2 separate regions of the Homo sapiens genome follow, and region 2 is linked to region 1. The links are contacts of gene promoters, found by promoter capture Hi-C in blood cells and fetal thymus (Javierre and others, 2016). All regions are on one chromosome and are shown on one strand. The core of a region is centred on a gene start or on the middle of the fragment in contact, and the rest is flanking DNA. Distances in the headings are between cores, read along the strand shown. Region 1 holds the start of SMIM14 (small integral membrane protein 14). Region 2 overlaps PDS5A (PDS5 cohesin associated factor A).

Evidence for each region. Contacts are between HindIII fragments. The CHiCAGO score rates a contact against its expected background, and 5 or more counts as called.
Region 2: a contact is called between a fragment that was not itself captured here and the fragment with the promoter of SMIM14 in region 1, in 1 of 17 cell types (total CD8 T cells). The highest score is 5.5, in total CD8 T cells.

What each region holds. Positions count from the first base shown.
Region 1 is chr4:39,637,210-39,644,451 of GRCh38, forward strand. SMIM14 (small integral membrane protein 14) reads right to left here and starts at 1,656. Exons shown (of 5, transcript NM_174921.3): 1 at 1,530-1,656. It overlaps SMIM14-DT (SMIM14 divergent transcript), which reads left to right and starts at 1,931. Exons shown (of 6, transcript NR_183845.1): 1 at 1,931-2,085; 2 at 4,485-4,583. RefSeq lists enhancers at 1,598-2,315, 4,087-4,682. The HindIII fragment of the contact is 4,728 bases long and covers 1-2,863 here.
Region 2 is chr4:39,925,991-39,933,263 of GRCh38, forward strand. PDS5A (PDS5 cohesin associated factor A) reads right to left here. Exons shown (of 33, transcript NM_001100399.2): 3 at 1,971-2,174; 4 at 785-871. Among named protein-coding and RNA genes, the nearest start is that of PDS5A, 48 kb to the right of the region's middle. The HindIII fragment of the contact is 6,990 bases long and covers 1,378-7,273 here.

The DNA.
Region 1 (7,242 bases), core at 406-2,905:
TTTTTTCCTATCTGCTTTTATCAACATCTTCTCTATTACACAAAGTATTTCGTATAACCAAAAATATTAGTTATAGGCTAGCATAAAAGGTAAAAAGCTGAAAAAGAACTTCAAGAAATCTTTCCTTCTTCTAAATCAGAAGGATTCCAACTACAGTAGTAAGAAAAAATATCTCAACGGCAAACACTGGAGAAAAGATTCGTTAAGGGGTTCATGTTATACCACAAGGACATACCCTTCAAGGAAATAATCTAAACTCATAACTCTTCCTGGGTTTGATAAGGAGCAATTAACTATCACGTACTGTTGTTCTTTCTTGCTGTTAACCACTGAAACACCTCAATTAATGAGTTCTCGGGGGTGAAGCGGTGTTCTTAAACACCACGTTGGAAAAAAAAAAAAAGTTAGGACAAAAAGGTTTGGTTTTCTGGTCGCAGTGCTGTCGACGGCCGCGGAGAGCGGCAAGTTCGGAGCAGGCTACACTAAAGGAATCTGCGCGGCCAGCCACCCTAAGTGGAAGGGAATGCAAAGCCTCCTGCAACCTCCACAGCGCTGGGCAGCAAGAATGCCTCCTAAGCGTCCCAACACTCCAACACCTGGAAGGTCTTACGCTTTCCAAGTTATAATATGTACAGCTGCTGTTTCTGACAATAACACACACAAACTGGAAGGTCTCTTCTGCAAATGTAGCTATTACGTGTGTGAAGCTCATCCGACTCTCTCGATGCAAAAGTAACACATTCTATTAAGGCCACAGCCTCGGTTTTGCCAACTGGGGCAACTGAAAACATCCTACCGACTCTCTACAGCTAGCAAACCATCTCGGCTAAAATCCTGGCACATATAAACAGCCACTTTGGTGAAGTCTGCCTTTAAACAGCAACACGGGACTTCGGGTAGAGCCGGTAACCAGTTTATCACACACTATTAGTTCCAATAAAGGGTGCTGCTACCTCTTTACTGTCAGCCTTGGTTCCACTTACTGAGCAAACAGAAAAAGGGGATCCTTTAAATTCGCGACACAATAGGAGCTAAAAAGCTCTCGCTTTCAGGGTGTCAGCTTTCTCGTCTCACTTATCACAACAAAGGACGCATCCTAGTGACTTCACCGTACCCAGAAAGGGCTGAGGGAGACGGTAAACAAGATAGTGTGGATTTCAGGATTTGTGAGTTTTTCCTTCCAGCTACGACTCTCTTTTTACTCCATGATACGCCTCCACCCGTCGACAATCTGATCCTAAAAATAAAACCACCCGTGGCTACCTTGCCCTTGCCTGCAAAGCCCCGACTCTGACATCCTGCAGAGAATACCCAATTGCAGGCTCTTCGCGGGGGACGCGGGCTCGGCAGCAGCGGAGCTTCTCCCGGTGCAGAATCGCCAGCCCGGCCGAGGAAACGCCAAGCCCGAGAAACAGCCCTGTTCTGCCGCAGCCGCCGCAGTCCCCGAGAGCCTGAGGAGCCCCCAGGAAAAACTGGGGCGAGGGGAGGGTGAGCCAGCAAACGCTGGTGGGAGAGGGGGAGACACTCACCCGCCCAGACAACAACCGATGGGGCGGGGAGGATGGGGGCCGGGACCGAGGCTCGGCAGAAAGACCGCCTGGAGCTTCCAGAAGGCTGCGGCTGCTCCGGACGCTGCTGCCACTGCCGTTTCTGGCCGCCGGCTTCCTCCCCCTCCTCTGTTTTGATTCGAGTGACCACGTCACTCTTAGCCACAAGACCCGGATCTGCCGGCTCCCGCGGGCGGCGGCGCAACAGATTGCAGCGCCTGGAGACTCCAGCTGCCCCGCCTGCCGAGCATGCGCATGCCCAGCGCCTGCCCTGTGCGTCCCGGGAAGCCGGGCGGGAGCCTGCGGCTTCGGACGCCTACGACACGCTGTGCGTGGGGGCGCGGAGTGCGGGGGATGTAGTTCCGGTTGGGAGGGGCGTGGCTGAGGACTGTGAAGCAATCGGGGCGAGGCCGGGTGTCTGTTCAACTCTCCCGCGTATCGTCTGTTTCTTCGGCGGCGGACAGTGTTCTGTAATGTGTCTCCCGTTGCCCGAGCTAAAGGTTTTCCTCGACGGAGTCTTTAGAATACCGTGGTAGAGGTAGACGCGGTTACAAATTGATGTCTGTTGAGACAGTCTACCCCTGTAAAGTGTTTTTGGTTACTCAGGCCCGGATGGAAATTGGAGATGGGGATTACAAAAATACATCAAATGTGGCTGTTATTGATTCCCTTTACCTTAACATTTTTGCACCGGAAACGACCAAAATTAAGTTCAACAGGAATATTAATAAAAGGAATATGTAGTCGGGCTTGGTGACTCATGCCTGTAATCCCAGCACTTCAGGAGGCAGAGGTGGGCGGATCACTTGAGGTCAGGAGTCCGAGACCAGCCTGGCCGACATGGTGAAACCCCATCTCCACTAAAAACACAAAAATTAGCCGGGCATGGTGGTGCCCGCTTGTAGTCCCAGCTACTCGGGAGGCTGAGGTGGAAGAATCGCTTGAACCCGGGAGGCGGAGGTTGCAGTGAGCCGAGATCGCGCCACTGCACTCCAGCCTGGGTGATAGTGAGACTTTGTCTCAAACTAAATAATTAAAGATATGTGACCAAAGATGACTTGCTGGTCAGGAGATAATGGGGAAGTAGGAGGGAATGCTGTGGCTAGGCAGCCAGCCAGCCCAAGTCTTAGTTGCTTTGGTTGTAGAGCTGGAATAAGAGTGCTGCTTTTACCCAATCTTCCTTTTAGAGCAAGTTGGTGCTTCCTATTCTCCCATTCTAGTCTCTGAGTCTCCCCGCTAAATTTTGGGGGCCCTGGAAATTTCCCAATTTGGCAAAATGCAGAACTATATTGTTTTCTTAGGTCCTTCAGTTGGCAAGCTTTAATTAAAATGGGACAAGTGGCGAAGTAAAAGTGAATCCCAAACAAAGATTTTACGAAAGTGCCTCTCTGCCAGTCTTGACGGAGAGGTGAAAGCTGCAAGCTTTCTTACTCAGATTTGATGACCTTTTCACTTACCCAGACTTCCACCTCAGCAATTTGGTTAATTACCCCTCGACAAGCTGAATCACCTTCCCCAAATAAGTATCATTTACAAGAGCTTTTTAATTAAAGTGGATATTGAACACAGGTAAAGGTTTCTAGAAAATTAAAGGTTTCTGGTAAAACTTGAAGTGTTTCCCAGTTAACTAATTGCAAAGTAGATACAAAGAATAAAGATTTTGGCCCTTAATCTGCAACCTTGAACTCTGCTTACTCAAATTCAGAGTTTGAGATGGAATCTGGTGCCCTAATGAGCTGACACTGTACCAAAGGGTCTTTAATTTGTGCAACTCCAAACAAAATCTGTTATGCTTGAGTGCACCCATGGGCACGTATGTGTTTGAGAACACAGCTGTGTTTAAGAGAACAGTATGGTACAAAACTAGAATTGTACTGGTTGTTGCAAAATTCTCAGTACTTGGTTTTGTTGTTGTTGTTTTTGTTGTTGTTGTTTTTGTTTGTTTTTGAGATGGAGTCTTGCTCTGTTGCCCAGGCTGGAGTGCAGTGGCTCGATCTCGGCTCACTGCAAGCTCCGCCTCCTGGGTTCACGCCATTCTCCTACCTCAGCCTCCCGAGTAGCTGGGACTACAGGCACCCGCCGCCACCACGCCTGGCTAATTTTTTGTATTTTTAGTAGAGACGGGGTTTCACCATGTTAGCCAGGATGGTCTCAAGCTCCTGACCTCGTGATCCGCCCGTCTCGGCCTCCCAAAGTGCTGGGATTACAGGCGTGAGCCACCGCGCCTGGCCTTTTTTTTTTTTTTTTTGAGATAGGGTCTTGCTCTGTTGCACAGGCTGGAATGCAGTGGTGCAATCATAGCTCACTACAGCCTCAAACTCCTGGGCTGAAGTGATCCTCCCATTTTAGCCTCCTGAATAACTAAGACTACAGACACATGCCACCACAGTGAGCTACTTTTTTTTTTAATTTGTTATAGGATCTTGCTATATTGTTGAGACTGGTCTTGAACTCCTGGTCTGAAGTGATCCTCCTGTTTCAGCCTCCCAAAGTGTTGGGGTTACAGGCATGGGTCACTGTGCACACCCAGTACTTGCTTTATAAAGTAAATTACAGGAAAACCAAGATGTTAGGATTAGCCTGGCGAGGTGCTGTATGCCTGTAGTCCCAGCTACTCAGGAGGCAGAGACAGGAGAATTGCCTGAACCCAGGAGTTAGAGGCTTTGAATAGCCACTGCACTCCAACCTGGGCAACATAGCAATACCTTGTCTCAGAAACAAACAAACAAAAAAGATGTTGGGATCCTTGGTAGCCAGCCTCTAAGAGGACCCCCAGTGATTGTCACCGCTGGTGGTCTGCATCAACCCTTTGAATCAGGACTACTATGTTTTACCAATAGAATACAATTGAATGTGTGTGACTTCTGAGGTTAGGTCACAAAGACACTGATTGCAGCTTTCCCTCTCATTCTCTTTGATTGCTTGCCCTGGAGGAAGGCAGTCTCCACACCACTGTGCTCGAACAGCTCTATGAAGAGGCCTATGTGGAGAGGAGAAAAAGCCTCCACCAACAGCCAGCACCAACTTGCCAGCCATGTGAGTGAACTAACTTGATTGATCCTGCAGCCCTAATCAAGCATTCAGATGACTGCATCCCTGCCCAACATTTGATTGCAAGTTTTTGAGAGCTAGAATAGGCTAGCTCTTACCCACAGACACTGATATGGGATATTATATGCTTTTTTGTTCTGATCTTTAAGAGCAGTTTTTTCTCCCTTTTTTGTTGTTTGTTTTTGTTTTTGTTTTTGAGTCGGAGTTTTGCTCTTGTTGCCCAGGCTGGAGTGCAATGGTGTGATCTCAGCTCACCACAACCTCCGCCTCCCAGGTTCAAGCAATTCTCCTGCCTCAGCCTCCCCAGTAGCTGGGATTACAGGCATGTACCACCACGCCCGGCTAATTTTGTATTTTTTAGTAGGGACAGGGTTTCTCCATGTTGAGGCTGGTCTCAAACTCCTGACCTCAGGTGATCCACCCGCCTCGGCCCCACAAAGTGCTTGGATTGCAGGCATGAGCCACTGCGCCAGGCTGTTTTTTTTTTTTTTGAGTCTTGCTCTGTTGCCCAGGCTGGAGTGCAGTGGTGCAATCTTGGCTCACTGCAACCTCCGCCTCCTGGATTCAAACGATTTCCTGCCTCAGCCTCCCTAGTAGCCGGGATTACAGGTGCATACCACCACACCTGGCTAATTTTTGTATTTTTAGTAGAGATGGGGTTTCACCGTGTTGGCCACGCTGGTCTCGAACTCTTGATCTCAGGTGATCCGCCTGCCTTGGCCTCCCAAAGTGCTGGGATTACAGGCGTGAGCCACTGTGCCCGGCCCCTAAGTGCAGTTTTTCTAAACTAAACAATGGAAGAACTAAAAAGTGTGTAATTCTATGTGTAAAGAATAACATAGAATTCCTACCATACAACCGAGAGCATAGTAAACATTGAATAAATATTTGTTGAATGGACACAGAATTAAAAAAGAAACACCAATTGGAGAATTTGGAACAAATACTGATAGTTAAAGGAGAAATACCATAATATATGAAGGGCTCATACAAATCAATAGGGAAAATTAATGCCTGCCACACATGCATAGGTATAAAGTATGAACTGATGGTTCACACACACAAAGGAAATACAAATGTTTGACATTTGAAAATCTTCCATCTCACTAGTAATCAAAAAATGCAAATTAAAATGATTTTCTTTTTTGGCTACTACATTAAGGAAATATATTTATTTATTTACTTATTTTAGAGATGGGGTCTTGCTCTGTCACCCAGGCTGGAGTGCAGTGGCTATTCACAGATGTGACCACAGTGCATTGCAACCTTGAACTCCTGGTCTTAAGCAATCCTCCTACCTCAGCGTCCTGAGTAGCTGGGACTACTGGCATGTGCCACCCAGCCTTTTTTTTTCTTTTAATAGACAGGAGTCTCACTATGTTGGCCAGGCTGGTCTCCAACTCCTAGCCTCAAGGGAAGTGCAAACTACTGCACCAGGCCTGGACAACATGGTGAAACCTTGTCTCTACAAAAAAAAAAAAAAAAATTAACCAGACATTGTGGTGGTGCCTATAGTCCCAGCTACTCAGGAGGCTGAGGTGGGAGGGGATGGCTTGAGTCCAGGAGGTAGAGGTTGCAGTGAGTCAAGATTGCGCCACTGTATTCCAGCCTGGGCGATAGAGCCAGACTTTATCTCAAAAAATTTTTCTTTTTTTCATATTTGAAAATAGAGCTAGGGTCTCACTATGTTGCCTAGACTGGTCTCAAACTCCTGGGCTCAAGTGATCCCACCGCCTTGGCCTCTCAAAGTGCTGGGATTATAGGCATGAACCACCACACCCAGCCTATTTTATTCTTTTTGATGATATTATAAATGGAATTGCTTGTTTTTTGTTTTTGAGACAGAGTCTCGCTCTGTCACCCAGGCTGGAGTGCTATGACACTATCTCAGCTCACTGCAACCTCTACCTCCCAGGTTCAATCAATTCTCATGCCTCAGCCTCCTGAGTACCTGGGACTACAGGTGCGCACCACCACCCCGGCTAATTTTTGTAATTTTAGTGGAGACAGGGTTTCACTATGGGCTTGAACACCAAGGTCTTGAACTCCTGGCCTCAAGTAATCCGCCCACGTCCACCTCCCAAAGTGTGGGATTACAGGCATTGAGCCACATCACCTGGTCACTTTCTTAATTTCCTTTTCAGAGTGTTCATTGTTAGTATGTAGAAATGCAGGCGATTTTTGAGTATTGCTTTTGTAGCCTGCAACTTGGCTGAATTTATTAGTTCTAAATTTTTTTTGGTGGATTAGTAGTAGGATCACACCAATGACTAGCCACTGCACTCCAACCTGGGCAACATAGCAAAACTCTGTCTCCTTAAAAAAAAAAAATCATTAAATAATTTGAAATTACAAATACCCTACAGCATATGGAGAAATGTTATGGACATATTGTTAAGGGGAAAAATGATACAACTTGCACACTATGACTACATCTGGGTAAAAAATATTTTGCAGGCGGGTGCGGTGGCTCATGCCTGTAATCCCAGCACTTTGGGAGGCCAAGGTAGGTGGATCACCTGAGGTCGGGAGTTCGAGACCAGCCTTACCAACATGGAGAAACCCCATCTCTACTAAAAATACAAAATTAGCCAAGCGTGGTGGCACATGCCTGTAATCCCAGCTACTCGGTAGGCTGAGGCAG
Region 2 (7,273 bases), core at 3,623-6,122, 290 kb after region 1:
AAAAAACTCAGTAAAAAATTAATTTTTAGAGTTAGAAACATATTAAAGTCTATAAAGACTCAACATATAAAATTTTAAGTGTTAATCACATATTCTGACCTTGAAAAAGATATATACCTGATGGCATCAATTTTCTCAAACTGAAAAATACTCAATATTTTTAAGTTGGTAGATATATTTCCATACAAAATTTAAGAAGCAGTAAAAATCTGTTTTTAGAATAGAAAAAAATAAAAATAAAAAGATAGAGGCCGGGCCCGGTGGCTCACGCCTGTAATCCCAGCACTTTGGGAGGCCAAGGTGGGCGGATCACCTGAGGTCAGGAGTTTGAGACCAGCCTCAACATGGAGAAACCCCGTCTCTACTAAAAATACAAAATTAGCCGTGCGTGGTGGTGTATGCCTGTAATCTCAGCTACTCGGGAGGCTGAGGCAGAAGAATTGCTTGAACCTGGGAGGCGGAGGTTGTGGTGAGCTGAGATCACGCCATTGCACTCCAGTCTTGGCAACAAGAGTGAAACTACGTCTCAAAAAAAAAAAAAGAAAGAAATAGATACAAACAAAAGATATAGTTTCAAATAATCTACAGTTTTTCCATCAGAATATACTTTATCTCTTCAGGATAGGAAGAAAAATAAAATAATATTTTCCTTATGAAATGTAAAAGACATTTTATTATAGGCTTTGAATAAAATAAACACTCATTTTACATTACAAAGTTAACATGAAGAATTTGCTATCATGTGAAATAATGTTAATAGTTATTAAAGTTTTTTTTTTTTTACCTCTAATAAATAAAAGTATCTATTAAACTGTGGACTCTTTGTATCCTCCAAACCTTTTAATTGTCTGGTAATAAACAAAAATATGTCCTGTTAAAAAAAAAAACACATTAATTTAGACACAAATACTTTTCTTTCACAACACACTAATAGTATGTAACTTTATTATTTGTGTACAAACTACAATAAAAGAAAATTCTCCTTTAGATGAATGTCTTGGGATTGGCCTAATCCATTATTCAAAATGATTCAAAAGATCCAATCAAATAAAATTATACTCTTTAGAAGCAAAAATAAACTATAAATCTTTAGGCTTTCTCTTTCAGAGCGGACCACAGGCTCTATATCTCATTATAATTTCTTCTACTATCGTGCTTTCACTTTACTCACTATCTCCACCTTGCATCGGGGCAAAAACTATCTTCATTTTAAGGAGTTGGATATGAGTATTTCCATTACTATTACCTACAAGTAAATAGTAATTTTTAGCCAATGTTTTGAAGTTGATGTATGATTACGAAGTTGTGTGTGAAAAAAGGCAACAGACTAGTCCAATGGTTCTATGATTCATGATGGTAGTCTTTCATTTCTTAATAAGCTTTCTTTAGAAATTTTAACTCACAGTAGTATCAATATAATACAAAATGATTTTAGGACTATTTTTAAAGAAAGCAGTCTACAGGATTAAAATTTGCCAAGAATGAAATTATTCAAAATACAAAATCTCCCCAAGAGATCAATGTTAAGAGTTCCACAAACACTTGAACAAAGGCAGAACAACCAAGATGAGCATATAGTTTTGCATGCTGAATAACTTATAGGGGAAAATAGTCATATGAATATGTAAATTCTGGTATGCTATTATTTTAAAAAGTATCATTAATCTGCTATTTATCCCTGGAACATAGCTATCTGGGCTTTTGTGATGAATTAGCCAGAAAATTGGATTTGAGCATACAGGGACTAGTTTTGAACTATACCTTTCTATGCTTCAAATCAAACAACCAAGCAACCCAGTCATTTGTGGAAATACTAACTGAATGAATAATTTTGCAACTTACAATATATTCTTAAGATGAAGAGACTAATATGAAACCTATGTTCATAAAGGTAAAATATAAAAATAAAAGTATACCTTCTGAACAGTGGTGAATGAAAAATACAATAAAGTGAAAAAGGCTGTATTTACCTTAAGTTTATCATGGGAAGTATATGGAGCTTCTGGGGCATAGATACGAAAGATATCAGCCAAACAACATGCTACAAGGAGACGCACATCTTTATTGGGGTTCCTGAGGAAGAATTCAGATGCAAGATGCAAGGCTAGTGGGAGATACTGCTGTTTTTCATCTTCTGAGTCCTGATCCATATCCATAAAGGTTTTCACTACCATCTGTAAAAATGTACAAAAACACAAAATAATTAACTCCTGGAATTTAGAAATCAGTGGAGGATGTGATTTAAAAAAAAAAAAGTCATCTCCATTAGCAATCGGTGGCCACCAGACAGTTCACAGTCAACTTTTTATAAATCTTCATTTAAGAATTTCAGAAAAGATCACAAGCATGAAACGGCTAGTCTAAAAAACCCATAAACAAGTATCACCTTCTCAGGCACATTGTCTGCACTAGTACCTCATTTATGAGGAACTTAAGCCTCTTATTATTCATTTTAAATCTAGCCCAGATAGTTCCTGGCCCCATATGGACAATAACATTCATTTGATATTTGGCAACATCATTAACTATGCTTCTTTTATATTTTATTATTAAAGGAGCCTTCTTCAGGCTCCTTAAAATTGCTATTTCATTTCATGCTTTAATGAGTTTTACACTTCATAATAAAAAGTCATTTTCCATGCTGGACAACATGGCAAGACCCTGTCTCTACAAAAAATACAAAAACCAGCTGGGTATGGTAGCATGTGTCTGTAGTCCCAGCTGCATAGGAGGATGAGATAGGAGGGTCCCTTGAGCCCAGGAGGCGGAGGCTGCAGTGCGCCAAGATCACACCACTGCAATCCAGACTAGGCAACAGAGTGAGACACTGTCTTTAAAAAAAAAAAAAAAGGCATTTTAAAATTATATTAATGCAGTTGTATTTCTAATTAAAACATTTAATTAACCTGCTTTTATGGTTATAAAATTAACCAATGCACACTTTGGAATCATTATAAAATGCAAAGAATCATGAAAAAAAATAAAAGAAAAATCCATAATTTATCAACTCCAGAAACTACCATTCACATTTTTGTGTACTTTATGCTGGCCTGTTTTCTCTGTAATTATGCAAATAACTATAATTCTTTATGTATCAAATCACAATAATTTCCTCAGATCTTAAAAATGATTCTCTAATTATAAATCACAGTTTACTTAATCTGTGTGATGGTTAATACTGAGTGTCAACTTGATTGGATTGAAGGATACAAAGTACTAATCCTGGGTGTGCCTGTGTGTGTGTTGCCAAGAGATTACATTTGAGTCAGTGGGCTGGGGAAGGCAGGTCCACTGTTAAGCTGGTGGGCACAATCTAATCAGCTTCCATCGAATATAAAGTAGGCAGAAAAACATGAAAAGGGACGGCGGGACTAGCCTCCCAGTCTACATCTTTCTCCCGTGCTGGATGCTTCCTGCCCTCAAACATCAGACTCCAAGTTCTTCAGTTTTGGGACTCGGACTGGCTCTCCTTCCTTCTCAGCTTGCAGATAGCCTATTGTGGGGCCTTGTGAGTTAATACTTAATAAACTATATATATATATATATATATATATATATATATATATCCCATTAATATCCTACATACATATATCTCCTATACATATCCTATTGGGGCGTGTGTGTGTGTGTGTGTGTGTGTATTCCTGTTAGTTCTGTCCCTCTAAGAGAACCCTAATACAATCTGTCGCCACTGTCAAATATTCAAGCTATATTTTTATTCTGCCAAGATTTTTTATCATGAGTGTAAAATTTTATTATTATTATTTTTTTTTGAGAAAGGGACTTGCTTTGTTGCCTAGGCTGGAGTGCAGTGAAGCGATCTCAGCTCATTGCAACCTATGCCTCCCAGACTCAAGTGGTCCTCCAACCTCAGCCTCCCAAGTAGGTGGATCTACAAGCATGTGTCACTATACCTGGCTAATCAAAAAAAAAAAATTTGGGGGGCCGGGCGAGGTGGCTCATGCCTGTAATCCCAGCACTTTGGGAGGCCGAGGCGGGCAGATCACGAGGTCAGAAGATCGAGACCATCCTGGCCAACACAGTGAAACCCCGTCTCTACTAAAAATACAAAAAATTAGCCGGGCACAGTAGCACACAACTGTAATCCCAGCTACTCAGGAGGCTGAGGCAGGAGAATCTCTTGAACCCGGGAGGCAGAAGTTGCAGTGAGCCGAGACTGTGCCACTTGCACTCCAGCCTGGGCAACAGAGTGAGACTCCATCTCAAAAAAAAAAAAAAAAAAAAAAAAAAAAAAAGTTTTTTTGTTTTTTGTTTTTTTTTTTTAAGAGACAGGGTTTTGCCATGTTGCCCAGGCTGGTCTCGAACTCCTGGGCTCAAGCGACCTGCCTGCCTCAGCCTCCCAAAGTGTTGGGATTACAGGCATAAGCCACCATGCCTGGGCTATTGAGTATTTTTTGACACCTATTGAGATAATCATACTTTTTCCCTAATTCTGTTAATATAGTAAATCCCAATGGCTGATTTTCTAATTTTAATTCAAGTTTGCATTCTAATTTTACTATTTTAGTCCAAGTTTGCATTGCTAAAATAAAGACAACTTGGTCATAACATTTTAAGGTATTACATTTTATTTGCTATTACATTATTTCTATTTCTTTGTAATTATATGAAAGAAACTGGCTTATAACTTCTTAAGACAACCGTATCAGGTTTTAGTACTAAATTATACTGGCTTGAAACAAAATAAGCAGTGATCCCTCTTTTTTTCTAACATAGTATATCAAAAGTGTGATAGTAAGACTGGTTTTATTTCTTCCCTAAATATTTAGGGAAGTATAACTGATAAAAGAAGGAATCATAACGGAAATGAGAAAATATTTTGAACTGAATTATAATGTAAATATGAACTACCAAAACTCATAGGATGCACTTACCACTGTACTTAAAGGAAATTTATAATCTTAAATGTGTATTTTACAAAAGAAAGAATGCAATCATCTATATTTCCATCTTGAGAAATTAGATAAATCCAAAGAAACTAGAATCAGGGTTTGTGAAACAAAAGATAGAGAAGGGCTGGATGTGATGGCTCACACCTGTAATCCCAGCACTTTGGGAGGCCAAGTCAGGAGGATCGCTTGAGCCCAGCAGTTCCAAGACAAGGGTCTGGCTCTGTCACCTAGGCTGGAGTACAGTGGCGCAATCTCAGCTCACTGCAACCTCCACCTCCCAGGCTCAAGAGTTCCTTCCACCTCAGCCCCCTGAGCAGCTGATACTACAGCACACGCCACCACACCTGGCTAGGTTTTGTACTTTTTTTTTTTTGTAGGATGGGATTTTGCCATATGGTGCCCAGGCTAAAAAAATTTTTTTTAATTATTGCTATGTAACAAAATACCCCAAAACTCAGTGCCTTAAAACAATAACATGTATTTATCATATGTGGTTGAAGAATTGGAAAGTGGCTTAGCTAAGTCGTGTGGGCCTGGAATCTCTCAAGAGGCTGTACCTGGTCAAGGCTGCAGTTATCTGAAGGCTTGACTGGGCGTGGAGGGTGTGTTTTGAAGGTAACTCATTCTTACGGTTCTAAGTTGACACTTGCTGTTGTTGAAAGGCTTCAGTTCCACACTACATGGGCCTTTCTAGACAGCTCAAGTGAAAAGGCAGTTGGTTTTCCCCTGGTGCAAGATCCAAGAGAGCAAATATGAAGTGGCAGTCTTTTACGACCTAACCTTGAAAAGCATACATTGTCACTTCTACCACAGCCTGTTCCGTTACTCAGGACAGCCCCGTTCAGTGTTGCAGGGGACTATACAAGGGAGTAAATACAAGGAAATAAGGATCATTCAGAGCTATCTTGGAGGCTATGATACAATGCCTTCTCATATGTATACCTTATATAGTCTTCTTCCACAATGACTCTGGATTTGGTCAGGTGACTTTTTTTTTTTTTTTTTTAAGACAGAGTCTTGCTCTGTCGCCCAGGCTAAACTGCAGTGGCATGATCTTGGCTCACTGCAATCTCTGCCTCCCAGGTTCAAGGGATTCTTCTGCCTCAGCCTCCCAAGTAGCTGGGAACTACAGGCACTCGCCACCAAGTCTGGCTAAGTTTTGTATTTTTAGTAGAGACAGGATTTCACCACGTTGGCTGGGTTGGTCTTCAACTCCTGACCTCAGATGATCCACCTGCCTCAGCCTCCCCAAATGCTGGGATTACAGGCATGAGCCTCCATGCCCAGTCCATGTGACTTATTTTGGCCAAACAGACATTAGCAAGCCTGATGCAAGAACAGGCCTGATAAGCATTTGTACGTTGAGATTGCAATGCCCCTATGGGAATGTACCCACCATGCTATTAGGAATCCCAGACTATTCAAAAAACAGAGGCTGTGTATACCACATAGACTACGTGGAAGAGAACTAAGGTGGCCTAATTGAGCTGCCATCTAAACTTAGCCATAAGAGTGACCCTGTAGAAGCAAAGTAGAGCTTCATAAATACACACAACCAAGGGGAGAAAACCTGTGGTGGCTGTGAAGGTCCTGATGCCATGTATGTCAAACTGGTATCTTCCGATGGTCATGAATTTATTGTAAAAAGAGAACATGCAGCGCTAAGCGCGGTGGGTCACAGCACTTTGGGAGGCTGAGGCAGGCAGATCACGAGGTCAGGAGTTCGAGACCAGCCTGACCAACATGGTGAAACCCTGTCTCTACTAAAAATACAAAAATTAGCTGGGCCTGGTGGTGCGCGCCTATAATCCCAGCTACTCAGGAGGCGGGGCAGGAGAATCGCTTGAACCTAGGAGGCGGAGGTTGCAGTGAGCTGAGATCACGCCACTGCACTCCAGCCTGGGCTACAGGAGCAAGACTCCATTTCAAAAAAAAAGAGAGAACATGCACTAACATGAGGAACAATCAAAAGGCCATGCTGAAGCCAAGCACAGTGGCTCATGCTTATAATCCCAGCACTTTGGGAGGCTGAGGAGCGTGGATCACATGAGGTCAGGAGTTCGAGACCATCCTGACCAACATGGTGAAACCCTGCCTCAATCAAAAATACAAAAATTAGCCGGGCATGGTGGCAGGTGCCTGTAGTCCCAGCTACTCGGGAGGATGGGGCAGGAGTAACGCTTGAATCCAGGAGGCAGAGATTGCAGTAAGCCAAGATCGTGCCATTGCACTCCAGCCTGGGTGACAAAAGCAAAACTCCGTCTCAAAACCAAAACCAAAACCAAAACCATGTTGAATGACCCAGATCAGTTTGCTGAGAATGAACTCATTGAGAGCAATTTTAGAGAGGTCTGTTCATG